Linked DNA regions of Homo sapiens: regions 1, 2 and 3 are each linked to region 4. The links are contacts of gene promoters, found by promoter capture Hi-C in human tissues and cell types (Jung and others, 2019). All regions are on one chromosome and are shown on one strand. The core of a region is centred on a gene start or on the middle of the fragment in contact, and the rest is flanking DNA. Distances in the headings are between cores, read along the strand shown. Region 1 overlaps HPS4 (HPS4 biogenesis of lysosomal organelles complex 3 subunit 2). Region 2 has its middle 9.1 kb from the start of ASPHD2. Region 3 overlaps ASPHD2 (aspartate beta-hydroxylase domain containing 2). Region 4 holds the start of CRYBB1 (crystallin beta B1).

Evidence for each region. The method cuts DNA at HindIII sites, captures the fragments that hold promoters and counts their contacts. A contact is called where the count stands out against the background at its distance.
Region 1: a contact is called between a fragment that was not itself captured here and the fragment with the promoter of CRYBB1 in region 4, in 1 of the 25 tissues and cell types used here (small bowel).
Region 2: a fragment that was not itself captured here is called in contact with the fragment with the promoter of CRYBB1 in region 4 in 1 of the 25 tissues and cell types used here (spleen).
Region 3: a contact is called between a fragment that was not itself captured here and the fragment with the promoter of CRYBB1 in region 4, in 1 of the 25 tissues and cell types used here (dorsolateral prefrontal cortex).

Annotation. Positions count from the first base shown.
Region 1 is chr22:26,458,250-26,461,326 of GRCh38, forward strand. It overlaps HPS4 (HPS4 biogenesis of lysosomal organelles complex 3 subunit 2), which reads right to left. Exons shown (of 14, transcript NM_022081.6): 12 at 196-328. Among named protein-coding and RNA genes, the nearest start is that of HPS4, 24 kb to the right of the region's middle. The HindIII fragment of the contact is 4,986 bases long and covers 1-3,077 here.
Region 2 is chr22:26,418,513-26,421,794 of GRCh38, forward strand. No RefSeq gene overlaps it. Among named protein-coding and RNA genes, the nearest start is that of ASPHD2, 9.1 kb to the right of the region's middle. The HindIII fragment of the contact is 3,088 bases long and covers 439-3,282 here.
Region 3 is chr22:26,437,666-26,440,903 of GRCh38, forward strand. All of the region lies in intron 2 of ASPHD2 (aspartate beta-hydroxylase domain containing 2), which reads left to right. Among named protein-coding and RNA genes, the nearest start is that of ASPHD2, 10 kb to the left of the region's middle. RefSeq lists a silencer at 2,882-3,038. The HindIII fragment of the contact is 6,333 bases long and covers 1-3,238 here.
Region 4 is chr22:26,616,618-26,619,684 of GRCh38, forward strand. It overlaps CRYBB1 (crystallin beta B1), which reads right to left and starts at 1,410. Exons shown (of 6, transcript NM_001887.4): 1 at 1,360-1,410. It also overlaps a transcript of CRYBA4 not described here. RefSeq lists enhancers at 464-1,141, 1,820-2,495. The HindIII fragment of the contact is 18,434 bases long and covers 1-3,067 here.

The DNA of each region.
Region 1 (3,077 bases), core at 100-2,599, 160 kb before region 4:
CATGAGCAGAGAAGCGTCTGCCCAGTGAACGCCACACTCAGTGGGACTGGGCTCCCGGTGAGAAGAGAGCCCTGAACGCAGGTCAGACAACTCTGTGCACAGCCGTGTCATCATGATGCTGGGGCTCAAGTTCTCATCTCCACCCATCTAGAATCTGGCATCCCCGTCGCCCCAGGCCCCTTGGCTGGTTCTTACCCATCAGCAAGCTCTGAATGCGGTCGTAATGTGTGAAGTTGTAGGTGCTGCTCGTGGAGGCTGCCTCATCCCTGGGCAGCGTCTCTTTCAGGTGGACTTCCAGCCCATTCAGTGAAGCCAGGCTGCTGTGGTACTGCAAAGGGGGAGAGGGTCATGGGCTTGTAGGGCTGACCTCAGCAAGCCTTCTGAGGGCTAGTTAACCACAGACTTAGTTAAAAAAAAAATCCTCCAGCCAGGCACGGTGGCTCACACCTGTAATCCCAGTGCTTTGTGAGACCGAGGCAGGAGGATCACTTAAGCCAGGAGTTTAAGGCTGCAGTGAGCCGAGACCGCACCACCACACTCCAGCCTGGGTGATAGAGTGAGACTCTGTCTCGAAAAAAAAAAAAAAAAATCATTCATGGAGTATCTTACTGCCTACTTGATCCAGCAAAATGGACTCTCACCAACATTTTTCTTTCACCCTTATGTTCTAATGTTTTTAAAAATAATGATTATATTGTAGGAGATTTAGAAAAGAGATGAGCAAAAAAATAACAAGAAAACAACCCATCATTTCACCATCCAGTAATAGCCACTGTCACCACTGTGGTGTATCTTATTTTAACCATGGCTTTCCTACCCAGGCTGCATGATTTCACAATACAAACAGCCTGGGACCATCCCGCATTGTTTCTCACTGGCCCTGGGTACAGAAGTCCCTCACTGGATGTAACACGGTAACTTCTCTCTGCTACACCTAGCACGGTCCTGGCTTTCTTGGAAGGACTGAGTGTCAGTCAAACAGCTTTCTGCACTTGATGGTTCAGAAGAGGAATACAGTTGAGGACGACTGTCAAGGAGATGGGTTCAAGTACCTGTATTTTTACAAACCTCCAAGGAGATAAAGTTTAAGTACAATTGAAAAGACTGGACTAAACTGTTTTGTGTAACTCTTTTTCTGTAAAATAAAAATGAGATCAAATCATAAATAATGACTGATAGTTTTTTAACCTAACAACACAGCATGAACTGCTTTTCTCGTCTTTAAATATTCTATCATATAATTCTTTAATGGCTGTGCAGTGTTCCTCAAGCTCCACTGAGGGCTTGACTCAGTAGGCCAGGCCTGTCATAATAGGCTTGGTCTGAAATGGGGTTTCCTGGGCCTGCTTCAGCCACAAGAAAGAAGGTCACTGTCCCCAAACATTTGCAGTTCCCAGGTAAAAAACATCCCAAGTTCAGCCTCTTTTTAGTCAAATGACCAGGAGCAAGTTACCAAGTTTTCTGTGCCTCATTTTTCTAGTCAACTGCAAAATGGGAACAGTACGGGACTATTGAGTGACTTAAATGAAATGACACATCCAAAAGTCCTTTGTAAACTCTAAAGTGCTATCCTGAGGCAGAGTCTTTTTATAAAGTCAAGGAAATGAAAATAATCATATAAAAGAAATGGTGTCTCTTTAGAGATCACAGATAATTTGTGGACTATTTTTCAACAGCTATGTAAGAAAAATAAGTGCATATAAAAAGTACAGAGATGCAAACAGAATGCTTCTGAAGTAAATGTCATGAAGCTTACATGTTATTTTGGGAGTATATTGGTGTTAAATCAGTTTTCCTGTATGAAAGTCTCAGAAATGATATTTCAAGTCAATAGGTGTGACATACAAAGTTATTTTCTATGCGCTCAGTTTTGTATCCTCAATGCTTAGTAGAGTGTCTGACTCCTAGTAGGTGCTCAATAAATGAATCCACTAAATGAATGAATAAATGAACACATCCAATGCCAAGCACTGCCAATTTATGAGCTATTTGGTTTAAACCAAGGTTGCAGAGCTATGTAAAAAGATATGTGCTCAGGAAAGACAATCATAATATCTCATGTTCAGATCACTGAGAGAGCCTGACCAACACTGCGTTTAACACTGAGCCTCTTATTTGAACAGATGTGTGTGTGTGCATGTGCCGACACGCACACGGGCACACATAAGCATTCACCTGATGAAGTCAAACCACAGCCTCACTGAAAGTTTTTGGACCTCAAGAACGTGCTAACAGTCATCCCTTCCATGCTGAGCTGGTGTCCAGAGGAAGAAACAATAAGAACAGAGAGTGAGCCATGCCAAAAACTGTTTCCCCACAGGCACGGAGCTTTGCTTCCAAAATCTTCTGCCTAACTTGCACTCAAGATAGGATCACTTAACCATAAAAACACAGTTAATCACAAGATGCTATGTCAGATGACATGTGGATAATTTTTACTGATAACCAAGTGCTTTCATACATACCAGGGGTCAGCAAACTCTAGCCTATAAACTAAATCCAGCCTGTTGCCTATCTTTGTACAGTCTGAGACCTAAGAATGGTTTTTATATTTTTTTACTTGGTTGGGGAAAAAAGTCAAAAGAATAATATTGTAACATGTGCAAATTATATGAAGTTCCAATTCCATGTCCATAAATAATTACTGGAATACAGTCATACCATTTATATACTGTCTATGGCTGTTTTTGTACTGCAACAGCAGAGCTGAAAAGCTGTGCAAAGCTGAAAATATTTGCTTTCTGGTCCTTTACATAAAATGTTTGCCAGCCACCGATATATACTGCTACATAATGTGATCCTCACAACAGCCCTAGGCAACACAGAGCTGAGGCTAATTCCCGGGTCCTCTGACTTCTAGTGCACACGAAAGCAAGTGGCACAAATGTCAGTGTGTGACACAGCGTGCAGCAGGAGCAATGCATGGAACACACATTCACTTAGAGATACCGGTTTCCCAGTTGGGGGAAGGTGTTTTTTCATAAAATGTTTTATGGCAACACTCTCACACTAACTTCAAGCCTCATGTACTGTACACAGAAGCTCCATGTCCTATTGTAGTGATAAATAATTAATCT
Region 2 (3,282 bases), core at 733-3,232, 200 kb before region 4:
TGCCATGCTTGAAGCCAAGCTTATTCACACATATAAGCCTTTGTACTTGCAGTTTCTTCCTTCCCTCTACTTGCTACTGGGTCCTGGGTGAGGGATTACCTTAGGTTGTCAAGTTTAATCCTTCCTCCTGCAAACTCCCTGAGGCAGACTCTTTTTTTGTTGTTTTGTTGTTTTGGTTTTTGGCATCATTGTGTTCCAGGAGCCGCAAACTCAAGTGTCTTTGGAACATGACAGGTAACAGAAACAAGAGAAGGGGCCAAGACTAATAAAAATCATTCAGCCCTCTTGGTCTGGCTTTTGTTTTTCCCCTTTTGACAGAGACGTGGGAGCAGAGAAATATTTCCTTACTATAAACACTCACACACACACACACACACACACACATTCATACACGTACTCATACATAGTGCAAAGAGGATGAGAATGGCAAGTGACAATTGTCACTGGAGCTGGAGAGCAAGAGGGATTGGGTGAGCACTGCAGCAAACCACACACCAGCCAATTTGCTGTTTTGCAGAAATCTGACCCAGGGTGACCAGATATTGCTGTTTTCCAAGAGAAACTGAAAATCTAGATTTTTATATGGTGTCTCCTAATTTTTAAATGTTGGCAATTTTTAAAACCCTGTGCAGGCCACATTAAGCATATCTTTGTGCTGGATTTAACGCAGAGGCTGCTGGTATACAATCACTGCTGTATGTTCAGTGGGCTTAGCATAGTATATGCTCAATAATTATATGTTGAATAAATGAATAGCCTTCCCAGTTGACTTCTCAGCATTTAGAAGTAGCTGACAGGTAGTTCACCTCCCCTCTGTTGGGAACATTTTTTAAAAGTAGATTCAGAACAGGAAGAAGCTTCTCCATTATAGCTGGAAGCTTTAAGGTATAGCTGCTCCTGGACTCAGACACAACCCATCAGAAATTTCTTGAAGATTACATTTCTGTATCACTCAGACTGGGGCTGGTGTATGAATCAGTAAGTAATGACATGGCCATGTCTGTTTTTTACAGCCAGCATCCGTTCTGATGGTTGGCACCATGGTGTACAGATTATTAAGTAATTTTAATATCACCCCCAACTGGGTGCAGAAATGGAAACCTATTACTGGTCATAGTCTGTTACCACCAAGAAAGGCTCATGGAGGTGGGAAATGATGCCTGTTGTCAAAACAAGATCTAGTTCACTTAGGTGTTGAATTCTATTCCAGATTTTATAGAGGGCTGCTTCTCTCAAATCTCTTATTGGAACCTGGCCACGCTTCTCATTTCTATTTTTCCATCTGGGAGACATACAGGCTCTCACACCTAGTTTCCATGCCCAGCCAAAGCTATTGCAAAGCTCCTAGAGAACATGGAATGACTGGAGACATCCGGATAAAGGTCACAAGGTGGAACAAGTGCAGGGTGACCCAGTGGAAAGCAGTGGTGGAAACAGGTGGATGGCTTTGGGAAGAGGTTCTAACTAATTCACTTTCCCCAGTGTATAAAAGCAAGCTTTTCCCCAGGCTTCACAAACAGCAGGCTCGTGTCTAGCTCTACCTACTTGCACGTAAGCAGGAAGTTCATCGTCTGTTCAAATGCTAAATAGATGTTAGCAGCACTTTATTGGATCAGCTCAAGGTGATTTCGATTTGTTCTGGGAACGCATTCATCATCTTATAACACATGTGTGTGGCTCTGCTTTCTGGACAGATAGAATTACTCATGTGTATGTGTCAACCAACCAAATTAAATCATCCAATGTGATAAACCCATTTGGAGGGCTATTCCCTTTCATTTATTCTAGGGAAATAATATTCTAGGCAAACTTATTTCCTAGAATTTGTGACTCAGGTTTAACTTCATATTTCCCAGAGCAAAGCTTCCCAACTTTTATTTGGGGCAGTGGTTTACAAAGTTATTTTAGTCCTGGGGTCTTTTATAATAGCTTCCAAATACAGAGGCCAATATATAAAGCTGAGAAAGGTCAAGCAGATCAGAGGGAAGAACTGGGAAACCTGGGCATTTCCTCTGCCCCTGTCTCTTGTTGCCGACGTGCGGGGACTACCAGGAACCTCTGGAAACACACTTGAAACAGCTGCACTTGCAAATCTCCAAATAGCTCAAGCTGTGTTGGAAACTCACAACTCAAACTTTCAAAAACAAAGGGTTAATTTTACCGTGTCAAATTGCCTTCTTATAATTTATAATCTCATAATATTTCCAACATTCCTAAAGAAAAATAGAACAAATGTTTATGTACCCATCACTCAACTTTATCAAATCTTAACATTTTGTTTTGGTTATTTTTAAAGGAGTAAAATATTACAAATATTGTTGAAGCCCCTTTATGTGCTCCTCCCAAATCTCATTCTCCTTTCCTCCTTCCTTCCTCCTCAGAAATAACCACTACACTGAACTCGTATTGATCATCCCCATGAAAGATTTTTCCTATAAATACATATTAATATATAGTTTCCCCTAGTGAGAATATGTATATATGCAGTGGCTCATGCCTATAATCCCAACACTTTTGGAGGCAGAGACAGGAGGATGTCTTGAGCCTAGGAGCTTAAGGCCAGCCTGAGCAACATAGCAAAATCCCATCTCTACAAAAGATCAAAAAATTAGCCAGGCATGGTAGCATGTGCCTATAGTTCCAGCTACTCAGGAGGCTGAGGTGAGCCCAGAAGGTTGAGGCTGCAATAAGCCAAGATCATGCCACTGCACTCCAGCCTAGGCAACGGAGCAAGACCCTATCAAACACTTACAAAAAATAATAATGTTGCAAACATCAATCTGCAATTTGCTCTTCTAGCTCAACATTGTGTTTTGGAGATTTATCCACCTTGATGCATTTAGCTCTGGCCCATGCACTTTAACTACTACATCATATTGTGTTGTATGAATTTTTTTTTTTTTGAGATGGAGTTTCACTCTTGTTGCCCAGGCTTGTGCAATGACATGATCTCGGCTCACCGCAACCTCCGCCTCCAGGTTCAAGCAATTCTCCTGCCTCAGCCTCCTGAGTAGTTGGGATTACAGGCATGTGCCACCATGCCCAGCTAATTTTGTATTTTTAGTAGAGATGGGGTTTCTCCATGTTGGTCAGGCTGGTCTCGAACTCCTGACCTCAGATGATCCGCCCACTTCGGCCTCCCAAAGTGCTGGGATTACAGGCGTGAGCCACCGTGCCTGGCCTGTTGTATGAATTTGTGTGTGCATTTTCCTTTTTATCAATGCTGCCTCAAATTTTTCACGAAATGTTGCAACGAACATTCTTGTGCATGTATCTACTCTG
Region 3 (3,238 bases), core at 689-3,188, 180 kb before region 4:
TTCTGCATGTCATCAGATTTCTAGGTGGTCTAGCCGGGTGGTAACAGTAGATCAGCTCATGTTCCCCTTGCCCACCCTGAGTGCCCGGTTGCCAGCCGCCTGAAGTGGGGGCCACTGGTGGACACAGCCCTTTCTCTACCCTCCTTCCTGCCTCTTTCAGGGCTCGGTAGGGACAGAGCAGCAAAGCTTGAGCCATAGAGGAGCATATGGGACTATCTGAGGCCATGTGTGGGACCTGTCACTGTCCTCAAGAGCCACTGGAATGATCTGTTTAGGGAAGAATTGAGCTCTTCTGCCAACTAAGCTGGTTTGTGGGCAACAGGCAGGAATGGGGGCAGGAGCAGAATGAAGGGGAGGCGGAGAACAAGAAGCAGGGGGGTGTCAAGCCAGCAGGCCAGGCCATTTTTCTATCGCACCGTGGCACGTGGCGATGAATCATTTAGTGGCCCAGAGAAAGGGGAGCTTCTTTCTGAAACCCCGGGGTGGCTGTCCCTGCAGAGAACTGCCCATTCCTAAAGGCCTTCGCCACCTGAACCAGCCAGTAGGGGCACACGCCAAAGGAAAACGTAGCCTCTGAGTCCCTCCATCTGGGCGTCTTTACAGCCCTGACTCCCCCAGCTGCTGTTAACCATAGTGGGAAATCATGGCTTCTGTCAGGATGAGCAGTCTCAGCTGATTTAATGAAATGTACTATTGAGAGTTGAAACATATTAGGGTCCTCTTAGAGGGACAGAACTAATAGGATATATATATACACACAGATATATACACACATACATATATATACATATATATACACACACACATATATATACATATATATAGATACACACATACATATATATACATACATATATATACATACATATATACACATACATATATACACATACATATATACACATACATATATATACATACATATATATACACACATATATACATATATATATACACACATATATATACATATATATATACACATACATATATATATATACACATACATACATACACACACACACACACATATATATATAAAGGGGAGTTTATTAAGTATTAACCCACATGATCACAAGGTCCCACAATAGGCTGTCTGCAAACTGAGGAGCAAGGAAAGCCAGTCAGTTTCCAAAGCTGAAGAACCTGGAGTCCGATGTTTGAGGGCAGGAAGCTTCGAGCACTGGAGAAAGATACAGGCTGGGAGGCTAGGCCAGTCTCACTTTTTTATGTTTTTCTGCCTGCTTTATATTTGCTGGAAGCTGATTAGATTGTGCCTGCCAGATTAAGGGTGGATCTGCCTTCCCCAGCCCACTGACTCAGATGTTAATCTCTTTTGGCAACACCCACATAGACACACCCAGGATTAATACTTTGTATCCCTCAATCTAATCAAGTTGAAACTCAGTATTAACTATCAGACATGTTAACTACAAGAAAATCAGCAATCAGGCCAGGCACAGTGGCTCAAGCCTGTAATCCCAGCACTTTGGGAGGCCGAGTCAGGTGGATCTCTTGAGGCTAGAAGTTCGAGACCAGCCTGGCCAACATGGTGAAGCCCCATCTCTACTAAAAATACAAAAATTAGCTGGGCACGGTAGTGCACACTTGTAATCCCAGCTACTCGGGAGGCTGAGGCAGGAGAATTGCTTGAACCCAAGAGGCAGAGGCTGCAGTGAGCTGAGATCATGGCACTGCACTCCAGCCTGGGCGACAGAGCACGATTCTGTCTCAAAAAAAATAATAATAAATAAAGAAAAATCGAAAACTCCACAATCACTTTAATTCCTCTGTTAATAGTATAACAACTAGCATTTATATCATCATGTCCAGTTTTATAACAGCCTGTTCTTTGGAGTCAGGCTGACTCAGCAACACTAAATGGTAACTTTTTAGCAGGTCATTTAACTTCTTAGTTACCCCATCTGGAAAGTGGGTGAAGTGATACCTGTTAAGTGTGTATTTAGCACAAAGCTGAGTAGGAAGACACAGTAGGTCTTCAGTTATTGGTAACAAGGATAGAAGTCCCATAGCAGCCCTGGAAGGTTCAGTATGCTAATGTCCCCTCTTTACAGGTGAGGGTATGGCTCAGAGAGGCTGAGTGACTTGCCCAAAGTCACACAGCACATAAGAGTCACAACCAGTCGTCTGTCCCCAAGTCCTCCGTCCTTCTGTCTCCTCCATGTGGCCTCTTTATTTGAATTATTACTGTGAACGTACTTCCTGGAACCATTATTTCTGGTTCAAAGAATACATTAAAATACTCTGGCTGCTGGAAGGAAAGCTATTTCATTTTTATGCTAAAGGACATTAAATCAGAGGGGAATGCCAACTGGCCCAGGGTCATTGTGGTCACAGTGAGTCACTGAAGACAGATGAGACCACCACCCATCCCAGCTCCTCTTCCAGGACTCTGCTTCCCCCTGGGTGGGCCTTCCTGAGAGCTGTTGGGCTGACCCAACCCCTTCTGAAATCATTAGATGGCCACGGTGGCCCCTTCTTTTCTGGACATCAAGGTAGTGATGGGGGCCAAGTGTTTCTGCAGACCCTTGTGTTGGAAAGGGCGACTGAGGGTCACACATGGCAGTGTTCCAACCGGACCCCACTGGCCGGTTGAAGCATACGGCTTATTTTTTATTTTTTATTTTTATTTTTGAGACAGAGTCTCACTCTGTTGCCCAGGCTGGAGTGCAGTGGTGCGATTCGCCCAGGCTGGAGTGCGGTGATGCAATCTCGGCTCACTGCAACCTTCGCCTCCTGGGTTCAAGCAATTCTCATGCCTCAGCCTCCCGAGTAGCTGGGATTACAGGCGTCTGCCACCATGCCTGGCTCATTTTGGATAATTAGTAGAGAGAGGGTTTCACCATGTTTGAGACCAGGCTGGTCTCGAACTCTTGGCCTCACGCGATCTGCCCACCCCTCAGCCTCCCAAAGTGCTGGGATTACAGGTGTGAGCCACTGTGCCCAGCCAAGCATACGGCTTCTTACAAAGCTGCCAGTCTATTTCCTCTTGAACCTAAGCCATTACCTTAGAAGTGTCCTCCAGTTTCCCAGAATGAGGGCAGACGAAGAGCACGCCATTCTCCAGCCTCAAAACGGATTAAAAGGCTAGAACCCAAGGAGGAGAACACTGTGTGAGCCTTTGATTTTTTAATCGCAACTGAGATAGTCCTAGAGGGGAGACTACAGTAAACACAGTTACTGGGTAAGGCAAGGTTCTAAACCCAACCTCCCTGGA
Region 4 (3,067 bases), core at 160-2,659:
GCCCCCTGCAATTTTCCACACTGCTTATCACACTGATTTGCTTGTGCAACTCCAATTTGCCTCCCTAGACTAATAACAAGAAGTCCCATTTGGGAGTACTTAAGGTGTGCCAGGCACTGTGACATACATTAATTAACCCATCTGACCATGAACCTCACCCGATGGAGTAGCTGCTATCATGATCCCCTCTGAGCAGCAGGGGGCTGGAGAAGGAAGGGGCCCAGCTCAGGCCCAAACAGCTACTAAGTGGTAGGGCTCTGATTTCAACTCAAGGAAATGGAGCCAGCAACTGGGCTTTTAAAGTATTCTGCCATTTGCTTAATCTGATTTATTCACCGTCCATCCCTAACACTTGCTCTGCACCTGGCACATAGGAGATGCCCAATTAACATTTGTTCAGAGAATGAATGAATGCATGCTCCCAGCTCCTTTCCCCGTCTGCTTCCTCTGAGGGGTTGGTGTATGGGTGCAAATACAGGCCGGGGACTGAGGCTTATGGGAGGACCCAAGAGGATGTATTTACTGCATGTGGAGGGTTCTGAAAATGAGGACTGGGGCTGGGTAGGCTTTGGGTGGAGAGGGCTTTGGTCAATTCCAGTGGTTCCTTGTTGCTTTGGGGTCGTGGACTCCTTTGAATGTTTGATGAATACCTCAACTTTGTCCCCGGACAAAAATAATGCTCTCTTTAACTTTGGAGACAATGTTAAGGGATTTGAGGACCCCCTGCTAGCACAGATTAAGACCCTCTGGTCAAGCTGATTCCCGAACACATTCTGTAAGGCGGAGCTAGTTGGGATAAGCACATCCCTCCCCCAGCCTCCTCCAGGAAGGCTGTGCATATTCTGGGGTGCCCCCTGTTCACCAGGGGTGAGGCCAGACATCTGGACCACATCTGTGGCTTTAAACACTCCCCCAGGGCTGGCAGCTGGACTCATGCCTTCCTGGAGATATTCTCATTCTCTCTCTCTCCCTGCTTCACCCTCTCCCTCTGTTCCTCCTCTCTTCCCTGTCTTTGCCTCTCTATCTGTTTCTTACTTCTCTCCCTCTTTCTGCCTATCTGCCTGTCTGTTTCTCTCCCTCTCTGTTCCTCTCTCCCCCACTATCTCTCCCTCATTGTATCTTTGCTTATCTCTCTATCTGTCCTTTTTAATTATATTTACTTCTCTCTCTATTTCTGTCTTTTCTCACTCTCTCCCCTCTCCCTCTCCCTCCCTTTCTTCCTCTCTCCACTTCCGTCTTTATCTCCATGGCCCTGCTCTCTGACTCTCATGGCACTGCTATCTCTGCCTCCCTCTCTCTGTCTCCCTTTTCTCTTCCCCTCCCCTTCAGCTCTCAGCTGGGCTGTGGGTTCCCTCTTACCTGGGGACTTGCTACTTCCTGCTGGAGGACAGGCAGGCGGGCAGGTGCTATGGGTGACTAGAGTCCGACCCCCCATTTTATAGTCTGGCAGACATCAGGCCCTATAGTCTGTGGCACAAAGGGGAAGCTGGCTCAGCAGGCCTGGGCAGGGAGTGGGGGACTGGGGCCCTGACCTCGCCTGGATCACTGCAGACAGCAGCACTTTCCTTTGTGAGACCAGCACACACAGCAGAAACCCTGGCCACAGCAGCTTCACCTTCCAACCCTACCCTGACTCCTTTCTCAACAACCCCAGCCAGGGATGGGCCCCCAAAAGGGTCCCTGCTGGCTGCCAACATGGGGCAGGGAAAAGGGGAGACCCTGGGAGGCAGGAGACCAGAGTTTGAATCCTGACTCAGCCACTGCGCGCTGTGTGGCTTTTGGTAGGTCTCTACCCCTAGGGGGGCCTCTGTGTCTGCAATTATAAGGTGGGCACGTGTCCCTGTTGGATGCCATATAGAAAAGAAGGTGACAATGAGCACAGAAGCGTTTTGTAAAGGCAGATGTGGGTTTGATATGGACAGCCTTTTTTACGGAGTGCTTACTGTGTGCCGAACCCGTGTTATCTCGGTCAGTCCCCGGGACAATCTGCCTTATTTGGTACTTTCATTATGCCCATTTCACAGAAGAGGAAAGTGAAGGCACAGAGAGGTCAGAGCCAGCCCAGGCCAGCCAGCTCTGGGCCTGTGTGCTTTCTTCTCCTGCTGTCCAGCCTTGACCTTGGCCTGAGGCCCCCTGGCCTGACTTCCTCTTTGTAGGTTGGGGTGGGAATGGGAGAGTCGCACTGTGCTCAGCTGGGTTGGATATCGGAGACCTGGGTCTTTTTCTTTTCCCCACATTGGGCCCCATCCTTTCCTGACCTATCGACAGTGATCCCTCTCGCCACCCCAGTTCCCCGCCTCTACCCAGGCCACGTTATCTGACCTGGAGGACAGTGCTGGTGGCCAGAAATATGACTGCCTGTCCCAGAGCCTCCTGCCCTGGCAAGCCCCAGATGCCCACCACATCTTGTTCACCACTGGCCCCAGCACCTAGCTGGGCCTGGCTAGGTAGAGCTTGGCACATCATGGGTTCTCAGTCAATAACTGGTGACTCAATGGTGGTTCCAATGGATCGGAACAGAAGGTAGGGTACGGAGGAGATAGGGAAACCAAGGCAAGGAGAGAGAAGTAAGGAGGCAGATAGAAGTAACAGACAAAGAGAGAGGTGGAGACAGAGACACAGAGAGGCACAGGGGACATGGACAGTGAAGGAGCGAGAGACGGAGAGACAGAGGTCAAGTTGGGGTGATCAAGCCTCAGGACGGAGGAACAGACGCCAGAAATCACAGGGCCCAATCCTCCCATTTCACAAATGGAGAAACCGAGGCCCAGGTGGAACAAATGACTTCAACATAGTCACATGGCGGGAACTCACAGTACAGCTGGGGTCAGAAGGAGCCTGGGGAGCTGCTCAGCTAGGTCACCTGCAGTCGGCTCCCCAGTCCCAGGCAGGGTATATTGCGGGGGCATCTGGATAGGCTCCTGTCTCTTCTTTTTCGGGGTTCTAGGCTCCCCGTGGAGCCCAGCTCTGTCTTGAACTCTCCCTGGCCTGGAGCCAGCTTTGCCTCTGTCCCTCCACCACCCAGCACCCCCTCGCTTCCTAGCCTCTCCTTGGCCTTTCATCCTGG